2 separate regions of the Homo sapiens genome follow, and region 1 is linked to region 2. Evidence: promoter capture Hi-C in human tissues and cell types (Jung and others, 2019). All regions are on one chromosome and are shown on one strand. Each heading gives the region's core, a stretch centred on a gene start or on the middle of the fragment in contact. The rest is flanking DNA. Distances are from core to core; before and after follow the strand shown.

Region 1 (6,707 bases), core at 125-2,624, 55 kb after region 2:
AGTGATCTCTTCCAAAAATTGTCTTTGTTACCTCCAAGATAGATGGAATTATTCTCAGTATAATTTTGAAGTTTAGTGTATTTCATTTTTTCTATAATTGATAGCCATGTATGGCACATTAAGTATTATCAAACCACATTAGAAATAGAATTTAATATAAATTAGAGTTTATTTATACAGTAGTTATTAAGGCAAGTTAAAATTAATGGCATACCGAACAGGATAGAGCATGGGATCTCTGACCTTTATTTTCAGTTAAAATAGAAAACATTGAAATGATACCACTGTTTCATGAAATGTCTAGTATGACGCTCTGGCACTGACCACACTCGTCTATTAAATTGGCATGATTTAGCTATCACTGATATTTGCCATTAATTCTGCTTATACCTATGAGGGTGATAAAAGTCAACTGTGACAATCTACACATCAATTTAGCAGTAAGGATACAGTTCTCCTGTGGATTCTAACAAATCTAGTACAGAAGGAGGCACTCAGTAGGTGATGACGATGATGTTAATGGAATGTAATACTCCTTTTTATATGAGTTTCTTTATGAACTTCTGGATATGTATACAGTGACTGAGGCCTGGATATATTTGCTAATGCAACAACTCACTGTCTAATCAGTCTGTTCTCCTCTCAAGGACATTTCACTTTGATTCTCATGCTTACTCACCTTAACAAACAGAAAATGAATTCAGAAATGAATAATTGGGCTTATGAGTGGAAGCTCAAGAGAATCCTGCTCTGGACACCAGGACAATAGTCTCTAGGGAAATGTGAAATCTCCATAAGCAGACACTGGGTTGCTTTTAGCTGCTTAATGTGGTTGTTGTCATGCGCCTTGATTGCTCCAACCTCTCTAGCCCCATCAGAAATGTTCCATTTTTAGATAACCGAATGTTTTTCATGAAAATAACACAAATAGGGCCCACTCTGGCTTTTGCAATTTCAAAGATATTTAAAACCAAATGGCATATTACAAATTTTAGTTATCATCCTCCTCTTTTATCTATTTTTTCCCAAATGTCATTTCTACTAATTCAGTGTTTTTCTAACTTCCTCCTGTGATCTTTCATCTCCTTTCATTTTACCTTTTCTTTCAGTCTATATGGAAATTAAAGGGAGTCCATTTTTGAGTTCCTGCTGTTTCAGTGTTTTATGCTGGACTTTCTTATGCCTCCCCTTCATCTACCCAACTAAGCTCTGTGCATCTTCCTTGTTATGACTTTTTGCTGCAAGTATACTCAGCATGTAATGTTCATCTCTAGAATATATCTGGTTTCTATTTCTGATTCAATTTCTACTTGCTCAAGTCTCTCTTGGACTATTTTTCTTGTCTCTATTGGGAAAATCTGAGAAAAAAATAGAGTTTGGAGCCTGTCTAATTAGGTTTGAAGCTTTGGTAAAGTTGCTTCTTTCAAGCCTCAGTTTCTGTCTTTGTAAAAAGGTATATTTATAGTTATTAGTCCATAAAATCATTGTAAATTTGTTGATTTGTACGGGAAATACAGTCAGTACTTTAAGTGTTTAGTTACCATTTTTGTTTTTCCTGTTTAAAAAAAGTCTATAGCTTATTCCAGTCTTTTTTTAAATTAATTAATTAATTTTTTTTTTTTTGACAGAGTCTCGGTCTGTTCCTCAGGCTTGAGTGCAGTGGTGCAATCTCTGCTCACTGCAACCTCAGCCTCCCAACTTCAAGCTATTCTCTTGCCTTAGCCTCCCTAGTAGCTGGGACTACAGGCACCCGCTACCACATCTGGCTAATTTTTGTATTTTTAGTAGAGGCGGGGTTTCACCATGTTGGCCAGGCTGGTCTCAAACTCCTGACCTCAAATGATCCATCCACCTTGGCCTCCCAAAGTGCTGAGATTACAGGTGTCAGCCACCACGCCCAGCCTATTCCAGTCTTTTTGACTAAAACACATATTTAACCTATGGAAATAATTTATTTTTATTTTACTTTTATTCCATTGGTAGTGAATTTGTAACCAAGAATGGGTATGATGACGTGTGAAATTATTTCCTTTACTATATAGGCATATTTTTATGTGCTACTTTGTGTATATCTAGCATATATTAAATAATAAATAATTGTTCGATGGTTATATTGCAATGCAAATAGATGTTTATGTAAATTTAGTGCCATATCACAAATTTGCTAGCAAGATTTTTTTCAATAATCTATAAACAATGTCAAGAAAATATTTTTGTGCTTTCTTTACTATTTGGAGAGCACTCTATTAGAAAAAATGCCAGGAATAATAACAATAGCTTATACTCACTATTGGCCAGGCATTGTCCCAAGGGCGTAAGTATTTTATCATCCTCATAACAGTCCTTCGAAGCTGGGCCAGTTGTGATTTTTATTTCACAAATGAAAAAACAGATGTACAGTATAGGTTATTTCTTCCCCAAAGTCACATGTTTAATGGCAAGAAAAAGGGGCTTGAAGAATGCCTGTCTGGCTTTGGAGTCTGTCCTCTTAGCATGCAGAAAGCCTGTTCTCAGGGAGCTTACAGTCTGTTCTCAGGATGGTGTTTTGTCACATGTGACACAGCCATTTGTTTCATCTTGTTTTATCTATTATAAAATCTACTTCTGTAGACATGAGACTGTGAACTTTTCTGTATTGTTTACTTTCTGCTTTGGTAGATACATTTGCTCATTGCACATACGTGGTGATGCAAGTTTTTCATCTGATAAAATCTTCACTTTTCATTGATTTTTGTTCTCAATTTTTATTAATTTATTATAATATATAAACTTTGTTTTAATTCGAATTGGTTAATTTGGACAGGAAAAAAAGTTCAGTAAATATAATTTTTAGCCTTTTCTCAACCTGCCTTCACCATAAGAGTGCCAGGTGTCTGAGTTCAACCCTTTCTCTGAAATAGCTTTTTCATTTGTAGTGAGAATTGATAAGTGTTAATTATCACTGAAAGTGAGATTAAAGCAGTGAAAAGTTCCATTAAGAAGAATTAATTACTAGGCTGGCATTTAATGGAAAGGTCTTAAGCAAATAATAAGATGCCATCAGCATCTTATTACATCTCGCTACTGACATTTGTAGTTTAAGATCATGATTATCAAATTAATCTGGCTTTACAGCAGCTTCCTCCCTGTCCCCAGGACTGTGCACTTTTCTACACAGATACAAGAGCGAGGGTATTCTCCTCAGTCTTGGTCCTATCCTTCAGTGTCTTGCAGTACTTCAGAGAATCACCCTATTCATCTTCCAAGTCCAGTTATGCTTACTCTATACCTGGTGAACAGTCTTTGTTTTTTTTTCTGCAAGTAAATACAATGGTCTTTTCACCATATGTCAATATATACCATTGGAAGGAAAGATTTTGGGCAGAGCAGAAGGAAAAATGTATTTTGTTCTTCCAATTTCTTTGTGTCCAAAGCCATTGCCCACATCCTTCATTGAATCTGATGATTTAAAATGTGCCCCCAAAGTCTCCAGTACTTACCAAAACACAATATATTTGCTTATGAAATTTCAGCACCTTCTCTTCCCCCCCAATTATGGTGTATTTTGTCTCATGTAAAGATCATTAAACTTTTTTGACTTTTGATTCTTGTGACTTGAGAATTACCAATAAAGAACACAAGCAAAAATATTTTACCCATTAGGTTGGCACAATGTCTTGACATTGCATTAATTTTTCAGTTCCAAAATTTTCATAAGATCTAAAGTGGAAAGATCCAGATCACTAGATGCAATACTGAAAGGATAAGGGCAAGAACTTGTAATAAAGTTTAAAGTTTCCAGGTTTCTACATGCAAAAGACATCTCCTTATTCAGAGGAAATAATATCAATTTGGGAGGATCAGATGTAGCTTCAGGATGCAGGTTATACCAAAGAGATAGACCCTTATTCTTCCAGATAGACCAAAGCTATAGCTGGAAGAATAATGAAGACTTCTCCATGAAAGAGAGGACCTCCCAGGCAAGCAAGAAGCCATTTATCTCCTGCAATCCAATCATAATTATTTACAGGCGCTGTGTTCCAGAGTTCCAGAAAACCAAAAGGCAGACACATTCCGGATAGAACTGGGGATGACAGATCTTTCCCTTGGACTGATGAGCACTACAGGCAAAGGGCGATACTGAGGCAGAATAATATATTTCAGGCTGCATTTAAAACTCCAGAGACTTGAGTGCCAAGTAAAGGAGTCTGGATAAAGTCTGGAGGAAGGGGACAGAGAGAGAATATTTTTGAGCTTTGGAAATATTAACTGGGAATTAGTGTGTAAAATGAATTGGAGGCAGAATGATAGACAGATTAGGTGACAGCAAAGTAACTAATGGATTGGTGGCTTGTATGTGTGCTGCTTAACTCAAAATCTTCTGCATTGATTATTTTTCTTTTTAATAACGTGGTGAATAATTTTTTAAGAGGCTTGGTTTACTTTTTAAATTTTTTTCTTTTAATTATTTATGAGTCTTTAATAATTCAGAGAGAGGCATTAATGCGAGGAAACCTTGGATTTGCTTCACCACAGGATGCCATAAACTACTTTATGGGAAGTTGTAGAATTTACAAAAATTCTCAAAAGCAAATACACATTTTAATTCATTTAATCTTTTTTTTTTTTTTTTTTTTTTTTTTTGAAATGGACTCTCTCTCTGTCGCCCAGGCAGGAGTGCAATGGTGCAATCTCGGCTCACTGCAACCTCTGCCTCCCATGTTCAAGCAATTCTCCTGCCTCAGCCTCCCAAGTAACTGGGATTACAGGTGCCCACCACCATGCCCAGCTAATTTTGGTATTTTTAGTAGAGACGGGGTTTCACCATGTTGGTCAGGCTGGTGTCAACCTCCTGACCTCAGGTGATCCACCGGCCTCGTTCTCCCAAAGTGCTCAGATTACAGGAGTGAGTCACCATGCCTCGCCATTCACTTAGTTTTTCAAGTTACATCCATTACATATGATCATGTAGGGTGGGGTCAGGTTAAAGAAGAGAGATACCCTCACTGTCAAAACAACAATGACATCATGGTGTATGTTCCAAGTTACAGAATTTGAAAAGTTGCTATTTCTTCTTCACTCTTCCTCAGCCACACTCAAAATGCTGTTATAGATTCATGCTGCTTTTTGATGGTGGAATAAAAAACCTGTGTGTGTGTGTGTGTGTGTGTGTGTGTTTTCAGGCTGGTGTGCTATTGAATCCTTATAAAACAAGACTGTCTCATGTTTTTATTTCTTATTTTACTCAAATTGCCAATACAAATACTTATTAAGGAAACAGTTAGACCAATCTCAGGGTGACTTGAGAATAGGATTGGCGTAAAGAATGCAACTTTTACTCTGGTTGGCCTCTTACTGCTAAAGGGTTTCAGTGATTTGACAACTCCAGTAATATCTCTGTATCTCACCATCTGGCAAAATTTCACAGTGCCTATTTGATGAGTAAGAGGTGCTACGAGATCATCACGAGGAAATTTCAGCACCAACAAACAGCTTCAAGAATTGTTTATGCCCACTGGGTAGTGCTGCAAACAGACACATACACTGAAATATGTTGCTTTGTTTTAGAAACACATGTACTTCCTGTTGTAGTTTTTAATTTTTTCAGTAATGCATGTGTGTTTAGCCGCACTCTTTTTAATTCATTCAACATCTAGCATTTAGTGACCCTGTCTGATGTGAACAGTGCTTCTCTTCCAGGGACTAATGCAGTTGTTTTAGATTATTGTTTCTTCCCTGCAGCTTCCAAAATAATTAATAGCAAATCACTCATTTCATTTAAGAAATAGGTATTTCCTCCCTTGGAATCCAAATTATATTTAGATGTTTTTATTTGTCCTCTATTCCATAAGATCACTGACCACGTAGAGGGTCAGAGAAGGTTATAACTTACGTAGCTCTAATTCGCATGTCTCTAGAGAAGAACATTCTGTCGTCCTAAATTCTGCAGCTAGTGAGACTGGCAAACCACTTATTTTTAATGCTAGAGACTCCTTTCTCCCACCTTGAAGAGTTGGCAGCTCTGGTTAGGGAATGATGCCAGATCTAAGCAAAGCTGACTTAAAGTATGGGTAATCTGGGACACCAGTGGTGCTATGAATGCACACAGGACTCAACTCCCAGCTGGGTTCAGATGAAAAGAGTCTGGCTGATGAATTCTACCACAGGTACAAGGAGGAGCTGGTACCATTCATTCTGAAACTATTCCAATCAATAGAAAAAGAGGGAATCCTCCCTAACTCATTTTATGAGGCCAGCATCATCCTGATACCAAAGCCTGGCAGAGACACAACCAAAAAAGAGAATTTTAGACCAATATCCCTGATGAACATCGATGCAAAAATCCTCAATAAAATACTGGCAAACTGAATCCAGCAGCACATCAAAAAGCTTATTCACCATGATCAAGAGGGCTTCATCCCTGGTTTGCAAGGCTGGTTCAACATATGCCAATCAATAAACAATCCAGCATATAAACAGAACCAAGACAAAAACCACATGATTATCTCAGTAGATGCAGAAAAGGCCTTTGAAAAATTTCAACAACCCTTCATGCTGAAAACTCTCAATAAATTAGGTATTGACGGGACGTATCTCAAAATAATAAGAGCTATCTATGACAAACCCACAGCCAATATCATACTGAATGGGCAAAAACTGGGAGCACTCCCTTTCAAAACTGGCACAAGACAGATGCCCTCCCTCACCACTCCTATTCAACATAGTGT
Region 2 (6,879 bases), core at 3,388-5,887:
AATGGTATACTAGAAGGTGAAAAAAACAGCTCTCTGAAGACCACTTTAGATAATTTTTCCAAGAATTTTCTTCTGCTAATATTGAACACCAACTGGAAGTATCAAAGTAATATTTATTTCTTTTTAGAAATACATACACACACATTTATAGGCACACATGCACAGACACACATACTTGCGCACACACACATACACAGACACACACACGTATATTTTAAGAAGGAGGCTACTGAAATATATATGTATACTTATTAGAAAGGGGTATAGCTACTAGGCAATTAAAAACTATTTTATACCCTAGGCCAAATTGGCAGCATATCCTATGAGGATTTTTTTTCCCAGTGGTTAGCAACTTGCTTCTATGAATGATTTGTTGAGCTGTGAAGGGATTTCCATAGCAGTGAAATCTTGTGTGTGGAATTTCCACATATATGTATACAAATTTTATCTACACCACACTTCAAATACAGCCATATTTACTGCTTGATGTTAATGAACAATAAAAATTCTCTGCAGCACTGTTCCTGTCAGAGAGGCATGGAGAGATCTTCTAGAGAGTGTGCCATCTGTCACATATGGACAAAACCTTGATCCAGGTGCTATTTATTAACTCTACTAAATAAGTTGCATTATTTTCATTTTAAAGTGAATAGACTCAAAAAGATTAAGTAATTTATCCAAGTGGCAGAAAGTAGCACTCTTTGTCAAGTAAGTCGGTATTCAACTTCAGAATTTTTGTGAATAGAAAAAACAGAAATACAGAAGAAAATGCTTAGGGAACTACTCTCTAAAATGAAATGTCTCTCCTAGGCAGTTGCAGTTAACAGTATCCAATTTTCTAAGCTTCTCTGGCAGCCACTTGTTACCTCCCGCAAAAGAAAAATTAAACTAATCTGAGGGACAGATTTTTGTACCTCAGTCATTTGAGTACAAATTTCCATCTACTTTTGCCTGCTACTGAGGTTAACTAAGTTCAACTTATACAAGTGCAAACACCCATGAAGTCCTCAAGATTTATCTGACCACAATTCAGCAAAATAGAACTCCTTAGCTGAGTAGAGGTATGATTGAGTAAGGGATCTTATATTCAAAGGGGGCAAAAGAAAATACAACTCAGTAACATTTCATCTGAAAACCCATAGAAGGAGATTTTAAAATAGGATCACTGTTCCAATTCAGAAATAATTGGTAATAGATATGTAATATTTATTTGTACTTGGACACAATTTAAAAAAGCAGCTCAAAATTATACTGAAGATGTTAAAACTGTTAATTGAAAAGGGTTCAGATATGGGTATAGGCCTATTACAGCTCTATATCTATTAGGAAACATGAAGTAAACACAGAAATAATTAGAAATATATATTAACAAAAAATAGAACCTTTAAATGGAACCACCAGTTTTTCAATTGAGGTCTAAAAATTGTGAGCAAATGATACTCCACAGATGATAGGTGCTACTACCTATTTTTGTAGAAATATACAAGATATACAAAGTTTTTACATATGTTGATTTTTGCATATGACAGTTTATGAGGCTGGCAAAAATTATGATTATTATCACCATTTTACATATAGTAATGAGATGTGAAAATAGGAGGCTTCCGGAAGTGACACAGCCAACGTTTCACATAGTGTATAATGACGATTCATTTAGATCATATTGTATGGCGGTTTCAACTTACATTTCAAACTTCCTGACCCAAAGGACTTCCAATTGTTTACAAAATGTTCCACAAACTATTATGTTTTCTAAGATTTTTGCACTGTGTAGAGTGGACTAGAGGGGAATTATATCCTAGTTTTATAGAGAGGGATTGAATGAGCCAGTTTAGAATTCACAGTAATGATGCTAGGTTACTACATTTTCTTGTGCATATAATGCTTCATGTATTGTTTTGATTATTTATATTCACATTTTACTATATTTACATTTTTAAAATCATGGCAACTTAAATTAAGAATTTTTTTAAAAAATCATTTAAAATAGACTTTGGAAAATCTGCTCCCGGGGTGAAATTTCTTAACATAATTCTTTAATTCACCTCAGCTTATTTGTCCCTTGGTTTTTTTATGTTGTACTTCATTTATATTCATTTGTAGCATCAGATGTTAGGCGGTATTTAATTTTCATCATCTTGATTTCCATAACTGGTTATACAACTTGATGAGAAAAAATATAAAGTGGATTTTGCTTCTTGAAGAAAAGACATCAAACTATCATAATCATACTGGGACTGTCAGTTCACATTAATCAACTGTTTCTGTTTTCTTTTACTGGCAGGACAGAGGGAGGGGGATAGAAAGATTGAGAGAGACCGCATAAAACTCAATCAGTGCTCAGGAAGAAAAGAATCTGTTCTTCTAGGTCTGAATAATCAAGTGCATATGTTTTTAATTAGCAACATCTTTGTACTCTGTGCTTCATTTAAATGCTCTTATTTGGTGTGTTGATTTTCTGTGGTTATTCATGTTTCCGTATGTCCTGATAAAATAATTTAAACAATCAATTAAATCAACCTTAGTAAGCATAGAATTAAATACAGCAGAGAAAAGCTTCTTTGCTGACAAGGACGGATAGCCCCTGATTAGCATAACCCTCACACGGGGGGTTTGTTTTAATCATCTAACAAAAAGGGGGCATTTTCTGAAACACACACGACAGGTATTGTTTCTGCAGAAAAAAGAAGCACGTGTTTCACCACATTTGTCTAAGGAAAAGGGAAACTTCATTTACCATAACCTTAAGCAACGTTTTCACATGGACTGAAAAGCAAAAGACCCCCTTAAAAATTAGCCTCAAGCAGCAGATACTCTCTTTTTAGGTTTGTGTGTCTCCGTGAGGTCAGATGGATTCCCCAAACACGGTTTTAGAGAGAATCACAACCTTTAATAGATCCTCTGTTAAAAAAGACTGTTAGAGAAAGTTGACCAAGGGCTTCGTTCCACGGCGACCGTTTCCTGCGTGTGCAGCTCCACACAGCGACCGCGGCCTGCAATGTGCGGAGCACAGCGCGGCCCCTTCCAGCCGGAGCTCGCGAGCCGCGGTGGCGGCTGGTGGCCACCCCAGGGAAATAAAGCCGTTGCTGCTGCAGCAAAATGGCTCAAAGTCCAACCAAAGTCTGGCCTTTTCCTGTGAGTAAATACGCGGCCTGTTTGGTTTTCCGTCCCGAGTGATTCCCGGCTCAGTAACGTTTCTCCTCCAGGGAGCCCACTGGAACTCCACTGGCTGTGCCGCCTCCTCGCCCGTCCCCCGCGCGCGCCGCAGGCCGGTGCTTGGAGAGCGCAATGTCCCCGGGAGGGAAGATCCCCTACCTGGAATGGATGGTTCCAGACCAGCGGGAACGCGCTCTAATCCTTGATGGAAGCAAGCGTGGGAGGAAAGCACAACGTCTAGGACTTCCCTGTAGTGTCAGAACAGGAAGAAGAACCTGAGAAGTCGCCGGGGAAGGGAGGCCAGGAGCAGGCGTCCGGCCCCTTCCCACAGCCCGGGAGAAATTAGTGTTGCGCCCCGCCCCTCCCGGACCCCCGTCCCCACCACACACACCAGCGCCCCTCACCAGTCTTTCTCGAATTTCCTCTCATGTCTATCAATAACCTCCTTGTGCAGAAATCTACACTGCACAAGTTAGGAGTCTGCAAGGGCGGGCGGTGTTACAGTCTCGCTCTTTCCATTTTCCCCTTTTACTCCACATAGTTTCAAAGGTCCACATGGCCCTGGTTTTGACCAGTTTTCCAACAGTTTCAACGTTATGTATTTCAACTTCCCGTCTCAGTTCACTGGCGTCTGCACCCGTTGCCGAGTGTGGGTGGCTGAGCCCTGGGTGACAGCACTCGGGACCACGCACCCATACCCTTCTTTATGCTCGTTGTCAGCCAGTTGCCAAGAGCGGGAGTGAAGAGCCTGCAAGGCCCGGGAGAGCGCGGATTCCGGAGTAGGGAGGCGAGGGGGCAGCGTGGGAGACCAGAGGGAAAATGGGCTGAAAAGCCAACAAAAAAAACAACGTAAATTGGGCTTTGCTCTGGCTTTACAAAGGCAGAGATTGTCGAGCCCTCTGACTGTCTTTGTGCCTTCTTTATCCCGTCCTTTGTGAAATAAGCCGTTTTCTGCCCCCACTGCAGGAGCCTAGGCTGTGGGCGACTCGCTAGCACTGCCCTGGGCCTCCAAGCTGCCTGCTCGCTGAGCTCAGCGCTGACACTCACAGGAGCTGCGTTCGCCGGATCCTCTGAGAGGCTCTGCAACGATCCCGATCCAATTCAGCAGCGTTTTAAAAGGTAGCCGAGTGCAGATGCTTTTTCCTGTCTTTTTCATTCTTTCATTCTCTGTCTTTTAAAATTTTAACAATAACCTATCGTTTCCGCGTGGAGGGTCTAAGAATCTTCACTGGGTTTAATTTAGGAATTTCAAATTGGGTTTCTCAAAATTTGAATGTGGTCCCCTTAATTGGTAATCAAGATTGCGGAGTTTTCCAAAATATTCCTTTTCATCTTATGTAATTAAAGATCCACGAGCTTTCCAAAGAAGCTCTGGATTTTCCACGGTACAAATCTATATATTTTTTCTCTCTCTTCCTCTCTCTCTCTCTCTGCCTCTCTCGTGCGTGTATGTGCGCGCCCCTGTGCGTGCGTTTTCTTTCATTTCTGGCATTAGGAAACTCGTGCAGGGCCACTGAAAAGTCAGGGGAGGCTCAGATGTTATTTCCCAGGGATTCCTGTTTTTCCAGAAACGTTGTCACCAAATAAGTATGAGACTGTTAATTTGGAGAAACAATTAGCCCCTACAAAAAAAAAAAAGAAAGAAAAAAGAAAAAAAAAAGAACCGGAGGGGAGAAGGCTAGGGCGGAAGACAAGGAAGCTGCTGCTTGGATTCGCTGGTGGAGGAAAGTGCGACCTGGACCTGCGCTTAGGGGCTCCCGTCCCCTTACTTCAGCACCAGAGGGGATGGACAGCGTCTCCGGACTGAGCTGCAGCCACAGGGACGGAACTACGCTGCCGCCGCCGCTGTCCTTGCCGCCACTGTCGTCGCCACGGGCAGCTGGGCTACTTGCTCCTCGCAGCTAAAAGGCGGTGCCTCCTATTACCCCCTCGCCTCCCGGCCCCCTTCCTTAATGGATGAAAAGTACCCCTCCCTCTACACCTGCTGTACCTAAGGACAGGACTCTGAGGAGTACTCTTGCTCCACAGATTAAACTCTCAGCAGCAACTTCAAGAATCATTTTTCTATAGGGGTCTGGGAGGAATTCTGGAGGAGAGTAAAGTCGAAGTTCTTAGAAGCTCTGAGAAATCATGGGCCGTGCGGTAGGGGTTGAAATGCTCAAAGGTCCACACTTCTTGAAATAAACAGAATGGTCTTGAGTGGATTGCAACTGTTTTGGAAATAGCTTTGTGAAAAGAGGGTGGAGAGCTACTCAAAATTCTACGTTAGAGAGACTGAAAAGACATCTAATTTCATTGCTCGGCAGGTAAGTGATAGCGCTATTATTTTTGTTTTTTAAAATTCTAATGACTTGTCTTATGGTTTAACAGAAAGATCATAAGCAGTGTAATTTTTTCTGGGGTTAACGAGGAGACAAGCAATTTTGTTTTAAAATAATTGTTTCTGGATCATTGTGTGACAAGAAGAATCAAAATAACATACATGTTGCCTTACATAATTACAGTAAACTTTTAGCTGGCCATTTTTCTTATTGCTTATCTAATATCTTTTTGGATCTGGCATATCTTGTTTATTTTTTCCCAAAACTAATGCAATCGTTTGGCAAGATAATTTTGTTGTCTTATGTATGCCATAAAAAGTGATCCTGTCTGTGTTACATAGTATGCAAGACTAAAAAAGTTAAAATAGAGAGGGTTTAACCATGCCCTCTAACATATTTTATATTGTTATAATATACTAAACTATGCATGGGAACAAATACATGTATACATATACACCAGATTTCTCACTCCATGCCAACCTCCAAGTATACCTACACCTGTAGGATCTTACGTAAGGAGACACTCATATTTTTACTTAGCACCCTCTTTCCAGCCTTTGAAAGCTCAAGATTGCTTTCTCAAACCTGATCTGCCAGAAAGCAGAAAATGAGAAGCTTTAGTGTGCCTCTTTAGGAGAGCTGGATTTCAAAATCATTCTAACTTATTAGTTCTGCAAAATACATTTGTCAGTGAAATCCAGAAAGTGATAGGGACCAGTAGGTTCCCGAAAAACCATAAACTTTAAAATGCTAATTAAATCTGTTTTCTGTTGATTCTTATTTCTAGTTTTCCCCTGGAGCTTTAAAATTACAATCTTTCACAGTGACCTTGATAAGCATTCTGCTTTAATAAAAAGGGTTCACTGGGCAAAAGCAGTTACACAAATTTGTAACCCGTGCCTGACATTTCACTAAGAATCCGATCAATTCCAATGAGTACATTCAGTTCAGTGAAGAGTTTTGACTTGCAAGGATGGAATTTTACAGTCATGTAAATACATGTGATGAGATATTCATAATCAACTCTGTGAAAAGAGTCTACCCCTTTGAAAAATTACAGGAGATCTTTAGGTTTTACTTTTAATTTCACTGGTTGTGTGTAACGATAGTAAAATGGCTCTAATGCATATCTATACGTACCTTCCTTCTCAATTTTAACACAAAAATCATTGGAGGCCGTTACAGTGGCATTCATTGGTGGGGTGATGTCCTCTTGTTTTATGTTGGCTGAGTGTAGCAATTACTCTGAGGAAAAATCATTCTTAACTGTCACCACTTACCATGAACCTGCTTGCTTAGCAGAAAAGGAGCAGAGGCATCTATGTCACTGAGCTCCTTGGGGGCTCCGTTGCCCTATATAGGTCAAGAATGATTATCTGAGGAGGAGAAACATGTATTATTG

What was found. Contacts are between HindIII fragments. The study calls those that stand out against the background at their distance.
Region 1: a contact is called between a fragment that was not itself captured here and the fragment with the promoter of SNTG1 in region 2, in 2 of the 25 tissues and cell types used here (H1 embryonic stem cells and hippocampus).

What each region holds. Positions count from the first base shown.
Region 1 is chr8:49,964,792-49,971,498 of GRCh38, forward strand. The region is part of intron 1 of SNTG1 (syntrophin gamma 1); the gene reads left to right. Among named protein-coding and RNA genes, the nearest start is that of SNTG1, 57 kb to the left of the region's middle. The HindIII fragment of the contact is 5,023 bases long and covers 1-3,886 here.
Region 2 is chr8:49,906,770-49,913,648 of GRCh38, forward strand. It overlaps SNTG1 (syntrophin gamma 1), which reads left to right and starts at 4,638. Exons shown (of 19, transcript NM_018967.5): 1 at 4,638-5,462. RefSeq lists an enhancer at 3,543-4,487. The HindIII fragment of the contact is 7,737 bases long and covers 1,700-6,879 here.